Regions from separate parts of the Homo sapiens genome. Here regions 1 and 2 are each linked to region 3. The links are contacts of gene promoters, found by promoter capture Hi-C in blood cells and fetal thymus (Javierre and others, 2016). All regions are on one chromosome and are shown on one strand. The core of a region is centred on a gene start or on the middle of the fragment in contact, and the rest is flanking DNA. Distances in the headings are between cores, read along the strand shown. Region 1 overlaps LINC02458 (long intergenic non-protein coding RNA 2458). Region 2 has its middle 17 kb from the start of LINC02458. Region 3 holds the start of ATP2B1 (ATPase plasma membrane Ca2+ transporting 1).

What was found. Contacts are between HindIII fragments. The CHiCAGO score rates a contact against its expected background, and 5 or more counts as called.
Region 1: a contact is called between a fragment that was not itself captured here and the fragment with the promoter of ATP2B1 in region 3, in 1 of 17 cell types (fetal thymus). The highest score is 5.6, in fetal thymus.
Region 2: a contact is called between a fragment that was not itself captured here and the fragment with the promoter of ATP2B1 in region 3, in 1 of 17 cell types (activated CD4 T cells). The highest score is 7.4, in activated CD4 T cells.

What each region holds. Positions count from the first base shown.
Region 1 is chr12:89,012,629-89,015,884 of GRCh38, forward strand. LINC02458 (long intergenic non-protein coding RNA 2458) reads right to left here. Exons shown (of 3, transcript NR_038385.1): 2 at 2,064-2,240; 3 at 1-689. Among named protein-coding and RNA genes, the nearest start is that of LINC02458, 5.4 kb to the right of the region's middle. The HindIII fragment of the contact is 759 bases long and covers 1,315-2,073 here.
Region 2 is chr12:89,035,641-89,038,726 of GRCh38, forward strand. No RefSeq gene overlaps it. Among named protein-coding and RNA genes, the nearest start is that of LINC02458, 17 kb to the left of the region's middle. The HindIII fragment of the contact is 7,011 bases long and covers 1-3,086 here.
Region 3 is chr12:89,707,254-89,710,243 of GRCh38, forward strand. ATP2B1 (ATPase plasma membrane Ca2+ transporting 1) reads right to left here and starts at 1,585. Exons shown (of 21, transcript NM_001366521.1): 1 at 1,343-1,585. It overlaps ATP2B1-AS1 (ATP2B1 antisense RNA 1), which reads left to right and starts at 1,702. Exons shown (of 1, transcript NR_028138.1): 1 at 1,702-2,990. RefSeq lists enhancers at 464-553, 564-663 and silencers at 854-1,083, 1,234-2,253, 2,274-2,823. The HindIII fragment of the contact is 7,681 bases long and covers 1-2,990 here.

The sequences.
Region 1 (3,256 bases), core at 444-2,943, 690 kb before region 3:
TCATGAAGCTAAATTTTGATAGAAACAACTGAGTTTTCCCATGAGTCCTTGGGTGACCTTTTAGGTCTCAGCTCAAATTTCATTTCCTCAGAGATCTCCATTCCATCTAAAATAGCCCCACTCTGAGTGCAGTTTATCTTTACTACTGCACTCTGTGCTTTACCCAAACTACACCTATCACAGTCTACAATATCCGGTTCATTCATGTTTTCATGTGTTTATTTTTACTTTCTCATCTACTAGAATGTAAATTCTGAGGCCAGTACCTCCTCTGTCTTGTTCAACTTTATAGTCCCTACACATAGAATGGGACCTGGCATAGTTGTTGGTCAATAAATATTCCTCAAATAAATGAGTGAATGAAGACTGGAATCAGGGAATAATTAAACCGAAAAGGGGTCAGAATGGATGCTATAGGAAATAAAAGGTAATGAAATATTCCCTTTTAGGAATTGGATCAACCACTTCAGAATAAGTAACATAGCACAGAAAAAAATTAGATGTAAATGGTCATTCATAGAATGGGCTCTCACTTGAACTTTTTGAAGGAGTTCCCACAATAACTTTACCTTTGACATTTAACAATTGTCCATATTCTGTTTGTGAGGAATGTTTTGTACAGGGAAGAGCCAGACTGGATCCTCAAAATCTGATCTTCATGATGCAAACAAACTTCTGGGGGCATTTTTCTAAAAAATAAAAGAAAGAGTTCATCTTACTTTTATAGATAGAGATTAAACAGTATTGCTTGATTAAACAGTATTAAGATAGAGATTAAACAGTATTGCTTGACTCCCATAAATAAATGCAAATCATACTTACTGAAACTGAAAAAGAGTAAGTTCTAAATTGATTATTTAACTAAGATATTAGGAAGCAGTGAGTATTTCAAAACATGTCCCAAGTTTCTGACGTAGAGGAATTAGCCTCTAGGAGCCTGACATTTTATGAGTGACTGCGTTAACCTAAGTGACAATTGAAGATCATGGAGCTGCACAGAGGGAGAAGAAAAATAATGGCACAACTTGCCCTCAGGAAAGTAATTTATTCCAAGAACAATTCTAGAAGATTATACTTAAAATATGCTGTGGCTATCCCAAACATGAGATGGTAGATAATTACAGGCAGTAAAGATTAACCAAAAGTAAAGTCATACAAGATGGACGTCATTTCTACTTTTATGAGAGTTGCTTGTATCTCTCCTCATATTGTGACTTTAAGCCTCTGAACTTGACCCTGTCTTCTGGGATTATGCCTAAAGATTGGGTCCTTGGCCAAGCAAGGCAGGCTTGAGACAATTACACCAGAAGGTCAAGCTTCTTTCATAGGAATTTAGCAAGGCTTTAACCACTTCTCATGAATAGTTTTAGGCAAAATTAAGGCATGTAGGTTGTTGGATTCATTTCTTTGAATAAATCCACTCAGCAAAATATTAAGTAATATATTAGGTGTCAAAACGTTGGAGAGATCTGTACTACAGAACCTCAGCTTTCTGAACTTGACCCCCTTCTATCCAGTATGTTTAATGAACATATAAATGAAGACACAGACAGCGTGTGTACCAATCTTGCAGACACCAGAAAACTAGAGTACCTTCTCAGGTATTAATCAGCATTCAAAAAACTGGCAGAAGGGTCAAAACTGAACAATTCAATGCTTCAGTTTAAGGGAAACGTTTAACTGCAGGTTAAATAGAACAGATCTGACTAAGCAACAGTTCTTGGGGAAAAAAGACAAAGAGTTTTAGTTACCTGCAAATTCCATATGAACTAGAAGCAACGGGGCTTGTAGAATAAAGTATGCATTCACAACCATCCAGCACTGTAATTTCAAAGCTAAATAAGACCAAGCCTGGCTTAATTAATATTTTTGAGTGAACGAACAAAGGAACAATTTAATAAATGAGATAACTAAAAAGTAATTTTAAGGTTTTACTAGGCAAAACTGGTCAAAGAGTTTTATCAAGTATTTCTTCACAATTGTAGCTGTAAATATTTGATAGGTTGCTTTATAAAGTAGTAAACTCCACAAAGTTGGCCTTATAAAAGTAAATGGTGCCCTACCTTACAAAGAAGCTTTGAATTGCACAAGGGAATTGGGCCGGATGACTTCCAATGCTCTCTCCATCTTAGGATTCTCTTGAAATATTTTTCACCGAGAGATGGTAGAGATGACATCCACAAAAGAAGGGATTTCTTTTTCCAGACCAGAAGGGAATCTGGTGAGCACTCTTCTTCACCCTAGGACAAAAAGAAAGGGAGAGAGAGAGAGAAAAAAAAATATATGGGTTAAGTTACAATGACCTAGATAAAATCCTAGCTCTTCCACCATAGAATTGTAAACTTTGAACCTGTTAGTTATCTCTCTAAGTAAGTCCAGGTCTTCTCATCTATAAATTGGGAATAATATTATTCCTAGACAAGATGGTGTCCTGGCAGAAGAAGATAAAGAATATAGCATCTAGTATTAACTAAATGTGCAACGGCTAGTGTTCGAGGTGAAATCTATGTGTTCAAGCATAGGTCATGGCTGAGTGAGTCCCTGGGGGGCAGTTATTTGTCTCTTGTCCTGCCCTTCTGGAAAAAAATGCATCAAATTGCATTTATTTTGTATGTTGTACATCCTATTATAGATATTTCTTTCTTTCTAAGATTGGCTTAGCTTTTCTCATTTGCCTCCTATAAAGGCCTTGATCTTTAAAACATAAACACACACAAAGAGACAGAGAGAAAGAGACAGGTAGAGAGAGAGAGAGAGATTTTTTGAAACCCTGAAGTTAATTTTATTTTGGAAATAGATGTGCTCACCAAGTCAAGCCAGTCACAGATAAGCATTTCCCTCAATCATTTACAATTAAAATTTCCTCAAAACTAAGATTCAGACTATATTTGCAAGGTTGCAAAGATACGGTTTCTCTTGGGCACACAGATTTTGCAACTCAGCAAGCTTCAGAGGAATACCTGAAAGTTAATCACACCTTGGATATACTTTTGCATTTCCTTTGCATGAGCAGTACATTTTGAAAAACAAGAATCAGCATATTTGCTAGGTAAAATACAAAATGTTTTTAAAATATAGTTTCTGTTAAACATCTCACAAGTCCTTCTGAGATCATTTTCAGAGTGATGAACTCCTCTTAAGACAGAAATATAGTAAGTTGTCTCCAGAAGAGAATAACTAAATTTCATGTACATTGACACAGAGAGCCACAGAGGGGAAGATAAACAATATCGCTATCATGCTAAGCAACTGCATG
Region 2 (3,086 bases), core at 71-2,570, 670 kb before region 3:
AGACCTGTGTTGGACTCCTGACCTACTGACACTGTAAGATGATAAATTTCTATTGCTTAATCACTAATTTGTGGTAATGAGTTGTGTACACAGTAGAAAACTAACACATATATTGAACATATATATTTTTTTTACTTATGGTCCGCTCTCCAGTACAAATTCTGCCCAGAGGACTAATACCTTGCAAACTCTGTGTATAAATACCTTTTAAAATTTTACTAACAATTACATGTTTCATTTACATAGTGTTTATCATGTAAGATAGGCAGGCTATGGGTGAATATTCCCATTTAATAGATGAGGAAACTGAGCTTTAGACTGTAAAGTGTCTTGCTCAAAGTTGCAGAATTGATAAGAGAGTGGTTGGGATAGAATGTCGATTCTTGTCTTTTGACTCTTTCAATCTTTTTTCCATAGCACCAACTCTGTCTCTAGCATTATTTCATGTGCTCCTCATATCAACAGCAGAAGAAACAGATACAGATGCCATTGTTTTTATTTTATGGATGCAAAATTGTAGAGGAATTAAGTGATCAGTACTGAAACCAGGACAAGAACTCCTTACATTTAACTTGTAATCTAGGGCTCTTTCTGATTTGCACGGCCACGTATAAACTATGGTGTGTATGCCTAGGTTTAACACATGCAGGATATTTAAAGGAGAGAACGTATAGTTTAAATAAAAACAAACTTGACTTAGTATTGACCTAAGTTAGTTAATGTCCTTGAATCTTAATTTTCTCATTTGTAAAATACAAATAGTATATCAGCTTGACATAATTGTTGAAAGGATTTGTTCAGTTTTCAACAATAATGAGAAAGTTGCATTTAAACACAGCTCCTGGCATATATGAATATGTAAGCACATTGTGTCAGGGTATCATGTCAATTTCATGACAGCTTTATGTTCCTCCTCATAGACAAACAGAATCCACATTTTCAATCTGTCAAAAGTCACTAAATACTGGCTCCAATCAAGCTAATAAATCCAACCAAAGAAAGAGATATGGGGAAAACAAGATGTTCCCTTCATTATCATGGATGAATCTGTAGTGGTCCCTTTCCCTTCTTGAGTCCAAAAGGAAAACTTACATGAATGTGAAGGATTTAGTCTTCTGGGCTTCTGATAATTAGAGACACAAGAAAAAGTGAGTTTTAACTTCAGTGAACCTTTCCAAGAGAAATTGCAATCATGTTCAAGTCTGTTCCATTTGTATGGTCTCTATCAAATCAAAGTTAATGGGAACAGAGAGACCCCAACTTGAACAGGGAGCTCCTAAAATGCTAGGAAAATACATTTTCCACAATCATTTAAAAATACAGTACTACTTGACATAACTCTAGAAGGAACTTCTGTGGCTCAGCACAAACCTGCTCTCTTGAGATAAATACAACATTCTATAAGTAAAAGCCTCTTTTTAAAAAAAGAAAATGACTAATTAGCAATGGGACTGTAGATTGTGTTTTACTATGATGTAAGTTCTGATTATTTGGGGTATTTTTATATTCTCATAATGAAGATTGCTAATACTATCTTATCTAAAGCAATTTTGAAGAAATACATATTTCTTTACCCAAAATAATTCTTCATAGACACTGTCATTTTGGATAATAAAAAGCAGATAAAACATTTTATAAATAACTATTTAAACATTTATTATTTATTACTCTATGATTTTCCTTTGCGATATAAATTAAAGGGAGATTAGGAATCTTTGGAATATTTTAGTTCTTTGAGTATATGGATCATGAAATCCATCTCATGCTTTTTCTTCCCATTAAACATTGAAAACAGGTTATTAAAATAGACACACCGATGATATCTACCAACGACTTCTAAAGTCCTTGTATCCTCATGATATATATTAAATATGTATTCTTATATCCTATTGAGTAATCAGAAAATGTCATCAGTAAACCTGCATAACTGAAATGAATTCAGCATAAAAGTAAGGAGTCTCAGAATTAGATAGAAGTGTCAGCTCTCATGGGCTTCTTCACTTGGGCATCCTAAAAGCTATTTTAATTCAACATTCCCCAAACTGAACTCAACATCCCCTTCTACCCTTCTCCAACCTACTCTTCCTCTAGGTTTTCCATTCTGAATGGCAGCAGCCCCGCCTCCCACCTCTTCACCCTGGTTGTGAGCCTGGTTACTTTTCCCCCTCCCTCCTCACAATCAGCAAATTTCTACATCTTGACAGTCACTCTTTAAATATCCCTTGACTTCGGTCAGAATACCACCACCTAAGTCTATACATCCAACCTCTGTCACGTGGATACCGGAAATTATTTCTTAGCTAATCTCCTGCTCTGCTCTCATTTCTCTCCTCGCCATTGACACCTAGTTTCTTAACTATCACTTATGAGACTCCTGTGCTCAAAATTGTTCTTTTGCATCTCACTCCCTATAGGATGAAGACCATACACCTTAGCATGGAGTAAAATATTAGGTTGGTGTAAAAGTAATTGCAGTTTTTGCCATTACTTTCAAGAAAACTTTCATTGCTTAGATCCTCAAAAAAAAAAAAAAAAAAAAAAAAAAAAAAAAAAACTTACATTTTGCTGGTTGTGCATAAGTGCCCTGAACTTGGCCATTCTGAACTCTTGGAGGTTTGCTTCAAATATGGCATGCCCCTTCACAGCTCTGCACCGGCTCATCTACTGTCCTTACCAACTAAATTAGCTCCCCGCAACTTATCTGCCAATAAACTTCTGCTTGTTCTTTAAAAGGCTCTCTTCAGCTGCCCTTTCCTAATAACCCTGCTTTGCTCCAAGAGGCACTCCTTTCTCTCCCTGTACAGCATCCATTATGCTGACTTTACTTGTTTGTCTCCCTCGTTAAATGATAAGCTCTTTACGGGCTTCTTGTTCATAATTGCTTTCTGATAAATGAATGGTTCTAGGCTAACATTTTCCCCTGTCAAAGGAGGTAATTTAGCTCCAGAGAGGTTGAGCAACTTGCCCAAGGCCACATAGCTGAATAACAGACAAGCCATCCAGGAAGACACCACAGGCCTCCAGATGCCAGCCTAGTAATTACTGTCTGCATCCAGATGCTTTCATATTTAGCATAATCATATCTT
Region 3 (2,990 bases), core at 335-2,834:
AAAGGGTTACACACCCTCTGCCAGATGAGAGCCTCATACAAACCAGGCCCTTACAAGTACTTCTTATTATAAAATACACCCACGCTGAACAAAAGCCTTATTTTAAAATAAGACTGTCCTCAGGTGGGGGAGGTTAAACACAACAAAGGCTTCCATGTTGACAGGCAGACAAGTTCAGATATATGCATATACCTACACACGTATGAAAAAAATCTATGTAGCTAATTTATCACGAACAGCAATCGATACCAACAGAAGCCATTAGATTATTAATAAACCAAGAAAAGTAGCGGGCACAGAAGCGAAAGGTGGCTGTCTGCAGCGCTCTAACCCAAAGAAAAGGTAAATATCAGCCTGTCGAGGAGGGTCGAGCCCTCCAAGTACCTGCAGACCCCTTTAACCCACCCGGACGCCCTGCCCTCCCCTCCGAGCCAAGCAGCGCACAGGGTGCGAGCACTCCCAGCGCTGCGAGTCCCGCAGAAAACTGGTGAATGAAATGCGCACAGAGACCAACCTGGCTGGTGACCGCGGCGCAGAACCAGGGGTCGCTAACCAGCTTAGCCACAGGATTCTCCCGCAGGATGGGATAAAGAGAGCACAGCCCCCACCCCACACCCCTGCCACTGGAACGCGGTCCTCCTACAGACTCCTTCCTCAAAAAGGGAGGTGGGGGCGCAGGCTTTTTTCTCTTAAACTAAGTGAATAAACACGAATCGGAAACAACTGTGAACATCCTGGGGGGCCAGACGGAAGGCGTGAGGAGAAAGACCAGGCGGCTCTCCAACTCCCGAGGAATCACCGTCCTGACACGCCAACAATCAACCACCAGGGCCAGGGGCCGACCAGGGGCCCCCGCTCCCCTCCCGCAGTGCGTCTGGGGGGCCGAGGCCAAGGATTAGAGGGGTGACCCTCCCGGGGCGCGGGGAGAGGGAGTGCCGGGCACGGTGCCCTCAAGGTCACCACGCGCCGTGGCGGGGGCGACCGGTGGCGGGATGGGCTGTGGCGCGGCCGAGGCGGCTTCGTGAAGCCGAAGACCTGCGGGTGTAGACCAGAAGCCCCAACAAGCCCCATCCCTCGGGCCCGGAGCAGCGACTCCCAGACTGACCCGGCGCTGAGGTGCACGGCGAGAAGCCCGCTCACCTTCACAATCTCCCGGCAAGAGGCAACCTGCGAGGGGCCCCGACCGCCCCCGTCAGCTTCTCCCGAATCCGGCGCAACCCGCTGCGCACCCAGCTATCAGGATCCCCGCCGCGACGCCCGACCTCCGTGCTCCGCCTGGCCTCCCCCGCAGGTGACCTGCCCCGCCGCCCCCGGCCGCGGGCGGGCGGCGGCCGCCACTCACCTCGCCCGGCAGTGGGAACCATTTTCCGAGGGGGAAGGAAAGGCAGGCTGCGGGAGGGTCGCGGGGCGTTAAGGGGCAGCGGGAAACGCAGAGGATGGGGGCTCCGTCCTCAGCGCGTCCGCAGCCGGCTCGCAGGGCTCGGGGCGCCACGCGGAGGTGCAGCTGCACCTCGGGGATGGGGCGGCCAAGGAGCCGAGAGGCTCGGCGTCCACCAGCCGGGGCTCCCTACTCACGCTGCACTGCGAGGAGGCGGCGGCGGCAGCGAAGGAGGAGGAGGCGGCGCCCGGCCGTCCCCGCCCAGAGCCCGGCAGCCACCGAGTGGCCGCCCGCGTCCCCGCAGGACCCGCCTCCTCGGCTCCGCAGAGCGGCACACAGGGCGCGCCGCGCTCGCTCGGCACGGGCAGCTCAGCCGGCCTCACGCCGCCGTCCGCAACAGCAGCCGCGGGCGGGGTGCAGCCACCTCCGTGAGCGCCGCAGCCCGCCCCACTCGGGGCGGGGCCCGCGGGCACCGGAGAGCGGACGGCCGAGCACGAGGGGGCTGCGCGCAGCTCCGGGCAGGGACCCCGTCTGCACCGGGTGGCCTGCAAGATTGCCGGGGTAGGCAGGGGGAGGAGAACGCTCACCCGTTCCGGTCTGGCGCTCCCTTTTCTCCACACCCACACGCCTCCCGCTCCACGCTGGCGGCGCAGCTGCTCCCGCTGCCACAGCCGCCACCGCCGCCGAAGCTCGCGCCGCCGCCGCTGCCGCCTTGGCTGAGCGCGGTCACGTGACGCGATCCGCGGGGAGCCTGGGGGCGGGCGAGTGCGCGCGCGCGCGCGCGGAGGAACCGCGGCTCGGACCGGGACTGGGAGCTGAGCGGCACTGGGAGGGCGTTTAAGGGGAGGACCCGGCGAGCGCGCCCTCGGCTGGCGAGCGCGCGCCTGGCGATTAGAACTTGCCGCGCGGTCGGGAAAGGGTGGCCGGAGTGAGGGGCGGAGGTGGGGACTTGCGCCTCCGCACGCCCCTCCCTTTCTTCCTTCCCCTGAGCGCCTTGGCTTGCCGCTGCCCCCGCCCCCTCCAGCGCGCCCCTTCCCTCCTGCCGCAGCCTGCGATTGGCTGAGAGGCTCTGACGTCCGTGTTTCCATGACGTGTTGGTGCAGGAGGGAGCGGCGGGGGAGGAGGGGGTGGCCAGGCGCGCGGGGAGGTGACTCCGTCAGTCACAGCTGCTGTTTCGGCGCGGGGCCGGGCCGCTGCCGCGACGTGTGGAGGCAGGAGAGCGATGATTGCCGCAGGAGAAGTGCGGGCGCCCTTCACCTGGGGCCCCTCCCGAACCGCCCCCGGGCCCATGCCCCTCCAGGGCCCAGGAGCGAGCCAGCGGGAGGGCGAGGGCGAGCGCTCCTGGCGAGGACAGATTAAGGCGAACCCCCAGTCAGCGGACATTTGAGCGGCTCCTCGCCGCGTCTCTGCCCCCACTCCAAACCGGACTCGACGCCTGTCCCGGGCCGTGACGCACGCACCGGAGGAAAAAGTGCTTCTCGGCTCGCTCCCTCTTTGGGGAAGAGAGCTCACTCCCCATGCGGGCGCGGGACACTCCATCTCTGTTCCTGCCGGTCGGGTCCGCAAACACCGGGGATCCCAGCTGCGGCGCCCAAAGGGTTAACGCAGGCGT